Regions from separate parts of the Homo sapiens genome. Here all the other regions are linked to region 2. Evidence: promoter capture Hi-C in 16 types of primary human blood cells and fetal thymus (Javierre and others, 2016). All regions are on one chromosome and are shown on one strand. Each heading gives the region's core, a stretch centred on a gene start or on the middle of the fragment in contact. The rest is flanking DNA. Distances are from core to core; before and after follow the strand shown.

Evidence for each region. The method cuts DNA at HindIII sites, captures the fragments that hold promoters and counts their contacts. A CHiCAGO score of 5 or more calls a contact.
Region 1: a fragment that was not itself captured here is called in contact with the fragment with the promoter of RFESD in region 2 in 13 of 17 cell types (activated CD4 T cells, non-activated CD4 T cells, total CD8 T cells and 10 more); the score reaches 10.1 in activated CD4 T cells.
Region 3: a fragment that was not itself captured here is called in contact with the fragment with the promoter of RFESD in region 2 in 1 of 17 cell types (megakaryocytes); the score reaches 5.0 in megakaryocytes.

The regions. Positions count from the first base shown.
Region 1 is chr5:95,837,714-95,840,624 of GRCh38, reverse strand. The region is part of intron 1 of LOC124901029 (a long non-coding RNA gene); the gene reads left to right. LOC102724720 (a long non-coding RNA gene) reads right to left here. Exons shown (of 3, transcript NR_157807.1): 2 at 2,182-2,305. Among named protein-coding and RNA genes, the nearest start is that of LINC01554, 13 kb to the left of the region's middle. The HindIII fragment of the contact is 157 bases long and covers 1,245-1,401 here.
Region 2 is chr5:95,645,332-95,648,031 of GRCh38, reverse strand. RFESD (Rieske Fe-S domain containing) reads right to left here and starts at 1,255. Exons shown (of 6, transcript NM_001131066.2): 1 at 1,215-1,255. The HindIII fragment of the contact is 4,150 bases long and covers 946-2,700 here.
Region 3 is chr5:95,779,378-95,782,077 of GRCh38, reverse strand. It overlaps RHOBTB3 (Rho related BTB domain containing 3), which reads right to left. Exons shown (of 12, transcript NM_014899.4): 9 at 1,653-1,826. Among named protein-coding and RNA genes, the nearest start is that of GLRX, 42 kb to the left of the region's middle. RefSeq lists an enhancer at 784-833. The HindIII fragment of the contact is 2,298 bases long and covers 259-2,556 here.

The sequences.
Region 1 (2,911 bases), core at 74-2,573, 190 kb before region 2:
GGTGAAACCCCGTCTCTACCCAAAATACAAAAATTAGCTGGGCGTGGTGGCGGGTGCCTGTAGTCCCAGCTACTCAGGAGGCTGAGGCAAGACAATCACTTGAACTCAGGAGGCGGAGATTGCAGTGAGCCCAGATCACACCAGCCTGGCGACAGAGTGAGACTCTGTCTCAAAAAAAAAAAAAAAAAAAAAAAACACAATTGCCACATTTCTTAATTTCTCTAAAGAAAATTAAATCTGGCCCAGACCCCAATCACCTTGTGCTTATCCCTCCCTTGGGAAGATCAAAGAAGTCTAGAGTCCTAGAGTTTCCACCATTCAGGAACATTGGGCAGGGGCCTTTAGTGCAGCATGGTAGCCAGTGAGCTGCTTATTGTCCAGGTCCCCAGGACGATGCCCCCATCTGCAGGCTCCTCTGGTGGCCCCCACCATCTCCAGGTCAGACGAGGTCTTTGGCCCTTTCACTTGGCTCCCAGTTCCTGAGACTCCGGGTCTCATCCCTAGGTGTCCATGGCCTCAGTTCACTCAGTTCACCTGAGATGTACATCTCAACTTGGGTGCTGGATGGTGAGTGGCATGCAAGTCCCCACCACTCAAGACTGGCCACTCTCTCTCTACCATCAGAGCCAGGCCACTCCCTTCTTCTCAAAGCCTAGTTGCTGTCTCCTACCTTTCTCCAGCTTACATTTCAAAACAATATCTCCATTCTAAAAAGCAAAAGAGCTTAGTGTTTGTCCATTCCACACCCAGGACAAGGGAATCAAGAACTCAGAACACAAAGGCCTGTCTGTTCATGCTGTAAGGGGGAAGAGGAAGTTACCTGCACAGCAAAGCAACTCCACTCAGGATTAACCCACCACTCTGCTACACCCTCCTCTCAGTAAATCTTTGTGCTTCACGTGGCAGAAAATACTTTCCATAAATAAATGGGGATACACCCAAAGGGAGGTGAGGGCCGTTGTTAGCCAGGGTCCTTGAGACTCAGTTTCCTGGATTGAACGTCACGGGGAGTAAATTTCATAGTGAAACAGCACCTCACAGAGTAGGTAAACTTCCCAAGACTTGGCAGAGAAGCCTGTGTGCCAAGTGAATTTTCTGCCTTCCGGCAAAGACGGAAAAGACACCTTTGAGTGGGTTTTCCACTGAGGAAGAAAGGTCTCTAGAAGGAGCATAAGTCCAAGAGGACCCCTGGGGTTCCAATTTAGTTGTTCCGGGTTGGGGCCCAGACAGGTATTTTTAAAGCTTCCCAGGAGACTCTCCTGTGCAGACAGGTTGAAAGCTGGTTATGTAAAGGCCTAAGGCGTTGTGTTTCCTCTGTTCCAGGGGTTGGTTTCCCAACCCCAGTCTCCATTTCCCCATCGCCCAGCCTCACATCAACACCTGCTGTGTGTTCTCCAAGCTTCTATGCTCCCCACAGTCTCCAGGCCAACACGTTTGGATGCCAAAATCCCCTGATCATGTTTAGGGCCCCTTCTCCTCCTGGGTCCCCCTTGTAGTATCCCAGATGCTGAAGTGGAGGCCTCGGAACCCTCACTTAGGCATTAGAGGGAGCATGGCTGGCACTAGCCTAAACAGCTGAGACCCTTTCGCCTTGGTAGCCAGACAGGATGCAGAGGGCAGCCACAGAGTACCACAGCAGGCTTTGGGGACGCTGGAGAGTGGTGGCCCAGGGTTACCACAGCTGTGCCTTATGTCCCCATCTCCTCAGCTGGCAGGGCCTGGACTCCCTCTTCCATGCTGTCCTCCCCTCATTGTGGAGATGGACCTATTCTCACTTCTCTTCTGTTCCTTCACCAGCTTCACTTGCTGTGAGGTCAAAGATTTCATTCCTGCTACTGAGACACGTGACTGATTACTCTTGGAGCAGTGAAGTCCTGGGAAGGACATGGGGATCAGTCAGGCTGGTTTAGATTAGCCTATGTGACTCCAGGTTGCCCTGTTGGTTCTATTGTAATGGACAGGCCTGGTCCCATGGTTGGCTCCAAACCTCCCCAGTCAGCATCCTCTGTGTCAGTGTTTCCAACCCTCATTGTAAAAAGCTACCTTTCCCAGATTTTTGATAGGGGATTCAGAAGACTGACTTGTTGCCACCGCCCCGCCCCACACCACCCCTTCCTCAGCTTGCCCTGTGCCTGAGTGTTTTCAGGAATCCAGTTAGAGCCAGGCAAGCAGGGCTCTTACCTTGAGCGGAAGGACCTCGGAGGCTGCGTCGTGAAGACTTTCCATCAGGGGCTGTTGTTTTGCCCTTTGAGACCAGCCGCTCTGGCAGCATCTTAGTGGGAGCCAAGAGTCAGATGTTCCTTCCCTGTGGGATGATGGTGTCATTGTCAGAAAGCGCCCTCCATTTCTGATCATCTGCTGCTTCTGTCACAAGCAGACTGGCTCTCCCCAGTGCCAACGCCTATTCCTGCATGTCAGCTATGGCACAGGGCCTGGGGACTGTCTCACGCTCCAGCACTTAGGCATCACCAGCCACACAAAGACAGCCTGTTTTCTTCCTTCCTCCCCACTGCCATGTCACTGCTGAAGGGCAAAGACCTTTTGAGATGGACTTTCAAGCTCAGTCTCTTCACAGTTCTCTGGTATTCCTCAAATCTGCAGAAGTAAGATACTTGGGTCTGCCATGACTACCAAATTCTCTGTCCCCTCTTTCCCAGTGTAGTCATGATTAGTAGACCTGGATGTGTCATTTCATGTTTGTGTTAACTCCTGTCTGGTTCTCCAGTTTCCTATGAAGGCCTCAAAGAGTTGATTACACACTTTTCATTTTTGGTGCTTACTGTTTCTCTTTATTTTCTTACATAAGTCATATAGGAATATATCCTGATTGTATAAGTTTCAAATAATATAGAAGTTTACAGAGCAAAGCTGAAAACCTGCACCATCCCGCTCCAGTTCACTCCTCCTCAAG
Region 2 (2,700 bases), core at 6-2,505:
GTGGAAACTTTGCCTACACATTATCAGAATGCTTATCTCAAGTATGACACCCTTGCTTTTACATGCAGGGAAGAGAAATGCCTTAGAGAGTAGTTTTGGTATCTCTCTGAATGGCAGAATAATAACAGATAAAACTAGCTGTCCTTTAGTAAATGCCTACTGCTTGGACCCTTTGAATATAATAGTTCATTAGTCTTCACAAAACCGCCAACGGGTAGGCATTAGTTTTATTCAGGTAGCACCCACGTTTTTATAAAAACATGAGGCTTGCAAGTAAACTATCCTGAAGACACAGAAACCTTTTAGCAAAGCAAATATGTATATTGGTGATATATATAGTATTGATATTTATATTTGTCACCAAAGATGGTCCTGAATTAAAAAAAAAAAGGAACGCTAATGTGCAACAGCTATGTTCACGAATGTTTACAATTGAACGCTTGCCCAATAATTTTATATAAAGTCACAGAGCTGCTCTGGAAATCAGCACCATCGTATGATGTTGAATTGTGATCACGAGTGAGCTAGACCTGGGTTTGCATCCCAGTTCTGCGTGATTTGGGGCAAGTTGCTTAACTTCGCTGTGCTGCAGTTTCTTTTACTTTAAGAAGGGCCCGCCACATAGGGGTGTGGGTAAAGCACATAAATGCTTTAACACATGTCAAATGTTTAGAGCAGGCCTAACCGCAGAAAACGCTCACAGCGCGTTAGCTGGCACCTCTAAGGTCCATCCAGCTCTGGCAGTTATCCTGCCTAACTTCAAGTTGTGTTTAACATTTCGGTAAAGACCGCCTGCAGTTCTGAGACTGCACGTGGCTGTCCAGGTGCTGCAAATTCTCGACACAGACTCCAGGAGGCGAGTATCTCCAGGACGGCCGGGGCTGCGGAAGCCCTGGAGCAGCTTCTATACTTTAGAGCTTTCATGGCACAAATGCCATGAAAGCTTGTTAAAAACGACCCGCGTACCCCCCTTAGGTGGCAGGTCTCAGGTGTGGCCCAAGTTTCAAGGTGAACAAGCTCGGTGAGTCTCCTGTGCCTGGGCGGAAGCCCGCCTTGGCGGGTTAACCGTTAACTAACGCTGAACCAAAACCCAAGAGGGCCTCAGGCCCCGCAGCGGCGCGGCCACAGCCGGAATGAGGAGTCCACGCCCGCAGCCCAGCCGGAAGCAGCTGGTCCCGCCAGCCCGCCCCCTGCGCGGCGAGAACAGAACTTACTGTCCCCGAGTCCTCGCTCCGCCTCCGCGTGACGCTACTGCACGAGCCAGAGCTCCAGACGTGCGCGGCGCCTCGACGGGGGCGGGGCGAGGCCGTCCACGTGACCCAAGAAGGCCCGCCCCCGGGACCGCCTCTATGGCATTGCCGGCAGATGACCCTGGTTGATAGAGATCTCTGGCCAACAGCGCCGCGCCAGCACCTTCAAACTGGCAGGCATACTCGTGTACTTGACAAATGTGGATAGCATCAGTTTACTTTTTAGTTGTTTGTTGATCTCATTACATTTATTCAAATTTTAGATGCGCCCAGCGACTTCATTCAGTTATTTACCCTATAAAAATATTTGCAGAAGGTCGTCGCGATGCTGGTAACCCATGTATAAGGATGTTAAGGCCGGGCGCGGTGGTTCACGCCTGTAATCCCAGTACTTTGGGAGGCCGAGGCGGGCGAATCACCTGAGGTCGGGAGTTTGAGACCAGCCTGACCAACATGGAGAAACCCCATCTCTACTAAAAATACAAAATTAGCCGGGCGTGGTGGCCCAGGCCTGTAATCGCAGGTACTCAGGAGGCTGAGGCAGGAGAATCGCTTTGAATCCAGGAGGCAGAGGTTGCGGTGAGCCGAGATCGCGCCGTTGCACTCCAGCCTGGACAACACGAGCGAAACTCCATCTCAAAAAAAAAAAAAATGTTTATTGCTGTGAAGTAGTGAAAATAGCTGAAGTGATAACACGGAGGAATGGTTCAATAAAACACAGCACAACAGTACAGACATGTGAATTACTTCGTAGCTGTGTACTGTATACTCAAAGGACAGGCCCATCATGTAATGAATATTAAAGGCAAAGCGTAGAATACTATATATGGTGTCCTCTCTTTAATGTAAACAATTATTTTTTGAAATACAAACATGCAGGTATGTACATAAACTTTTTCTCGAAAAATCAAAAGAAACAATAGTGGTTGCTTTGGGAGGAGATGGAGAGTTTTCACTTTCATATTATGAACTTTGCAATTTTGCTTTTTTCTCATTGTACTTCCCTGAATTGACAACAACAACAACAAAGAAAACCACCAAAACCCTCATATTTGTGTTCCGAGCTGGGAAACTAGATGAGCCTAAGTTTTTAATTTCCTTGACTACTTTCCAGTGCAGTGATTCTTAACCCTGGCTATGCCTTAGAGTCGCTTGGGAGTTTTGAAAAGTCGTAATGCCCAGTCTGTATGCCAGACCAACAAAATAAAACACAGATTATTTGGGGTGGGAAGGGAGTGGGCAGATTCAATGTATGTTTTTAACTTCCTGAGTGATTCCAGTGTGAACCCAAGGTTGAACACTACAACTTGTATTTAGTATGGTGACATAGTGATCTCAGGCTCTAGGGTGGCCCAATGAACTGGGGCAGCCGAAACCCAGGAACTTTGTCCATTTACCTCAGTGTGCTATATAAATGCCATTTTTTAAATGAGCCTCAACATGTAAGAAG
Region 3 (2,700 bases), core at 158-2,657, 130 kb before region 2:
TTCCTCTGTAATATTTTCTAATTAGCAAGGTAAAACTTAATATTAGCAGCTTCAATTACTTGAGTGAGAGGATGACTGAAAATCAAATTTTCCTATTACTCCAAATCTGGTCAATTTGTAAATTTAATATACAGATTTGCCAACAATGAAATAATAAACAATAAGCTTTATTTCCAAAAAGAACAAATGCTTTCATTTTTATTAGGCAAAAATACTAAGTCTTTTTTTGAGACGGAGTCTCACTCGGTCACCCAAGCTTGAGTGTGGTGGCGCCATCTTGGCTCACTGCAACCTCTGCCTCACAGGTTCAAGCGATTCTCCTGCCTCTGCCTCCCGTGTAGCTGGGATTACAGGCACACGTCACCATGCCCAGCTAATTTTTGTATTTTTAGTAGAGACGGGGTTTCACCATGTTGGTCAGGCTGTTTTTGAACTGACTTCAGGTGATCTGCTCACCTCAGCCTTCCAAAGTGCTCAGATTACAGGCATGAGCTACGGCACCTGGCCGTAAGTCAGTCTTTAACACTGACAGAAACAACTGCAACTGGCTCCAAAATACTCTACAGAAAGCTGCAAGCCCAGAATTAATTTAATCAACACAAATACATTTGCTTCTTTTTGAACTTCTAAAATCTTTCACTAGAGGGCTCATGACTTGTTTAAAACTTATTTCAATACCCAGTGTAAGAAACCTTTCCATTCTAAAAATTAAAGCAGTGAATCTGAAGAGAGGTCTGGCTTGAAATGTGTGTTTGCTTTTTATGTTTATTAGGGTGCCTGACCAGGTTCTCTAATCAAGGTCTCAGGCTCCTGAACTGAGCTCCACGGGGCCGAATCTAGTTGTGCTTGTGGTGGGAGCCATCTGGTGGCCAAAGGCTGAAGACTACTCACAGAGGGCTTCCCTGCCAGCATCCCAAGCAAGGCTCCAGGCCTGTAGAAAAAATTTTGCTATTTCTTCAAGTGCCTCCAGCTAGAAGAACCCTGCTGGATCTGTTCCAACCTAGAGCTGTCACAGATGTTTGGTTCCTGGTCAAAGATAGTCCTTGGTCAGTGAATTTGGAAATGAATCCTACAGTCCACTGGGTATTCTAAACATCTCAAGAAAAGTTTTCAGAGAAGTCAGTTTGAGGAGTTTCTGACTTTAGCAGAAGTCAGAAGGAGGCCTTTACAAATCCCACATCCTCTGGGCAGAAGGAAGACCAAAAAAGTCTCAGAATATTGAAAGTCCTTAAAAGTGCCCCAATCAGAAGTCACAGACATCAAAGCAGTTGCGCAACCCTCCTCTTCTTGTGGAAGAGACAGCGCTCCAAGTAACAATCTGCCCCGATCTCTAGAATTACGGTAGCCATGGGTACCACAAGACACCTCCATTTCTAGTTGCCTACAGTGATCCCCATGCTGTAGGTGCTGGCTGGGACATGTGAACTTGTGCCGGCGTCGGAGACCCATAAAAGGCACCCAATCACTGCACTTCCACTTGAACTGAATGAAAATTCATTGTTGTTCCAGCACCACCTCTAATTGCTTAGTACATTCCGTGATGTCAACTAATAAATCTTAAATGAAAATAGATTCCACAGAGTGCAATTTAACAAAATGGGTGGCAAGGAAAGAAAGAATTCTGAGATACTATCAACATTTGTATTGCTAACCTGGGCAGCAGGAGTCTGTGTACAGGTATTCTAAAAATGACAAGAAAGTCTCTTTGGAAACACCATAAACGGGAATCAGGACACTCTTTGCTTCCATGTAATTACCATTAAACATGGCTGCCATCACTTCACAACGGGCCACCAGGATGGCCCTGTGGGCTGGCACTGTCGTACCTGAAAGGTTCAAAAGGGAAACAAGAAACAAGTGAGATAAACCTGCAGGGTTATTCCAGCAATTTTCCTTCTAATTAGACTACCACATTAGGGACAGCTAGGCTGATATGCAGAATCTGAATTTGGGAGTGATAACTACCATTAATCCAGAAACTTCTTAATTTTAAAGGGAGCAATAAAGAAAGTTCAGATGTTGACCTTGAAACCAACAATTTGCAAGTCAAGACAACAATTTGTTACTTAGTTTGTATTTCCAGAAATAGAAACACTGAAATGAAGTATTTTGCTTCATATTTTTATAATGAAACATCAATCCTTTCCAATTGGCTTGAAATATTAATAATACTACCCGTGCCCATGTGCCTCCCAAGAAAACAACCCCATTACCCTTCTGGGCCTGACTCACAGAACCATCTTGGCCATGCTTCCCCTTATCTGAAACAGGAAACTGTAAGAAGTAAACCATAAGCTGTCCGTACACCACAGTAGGAATAGCAAGAGGATCTCTTGTGGAGCCAAGGAGAGCATTTCAGACTTAATGAAAATCTGGAAGAGGATGACCTTAATCCCTGCAGTCTCCCCAGCACACTACTTCCTCAGGCAACCATTCTGTCTCACCTGAACAATGCCTGCTGCTGGGAGAGCCAGTGCTACGTTGAATTTTGAGGGCTCTCTCAGCCCATACTGCTCACTGAACTCACCGAACTGAATTAACTCTCTAGGAAAAGCTTGCTAGGCTCTCTAGCTACTGCTGCACCACACAAAGGCAGCGCTGGATAGGGCCGTGAGTGGCCAGGGCTCTCTACTTCCACCACCTTAGAAAACCACGAATACACACTGCCAGCCTTCAGTTCAGCCTGGATCACTTCAACAG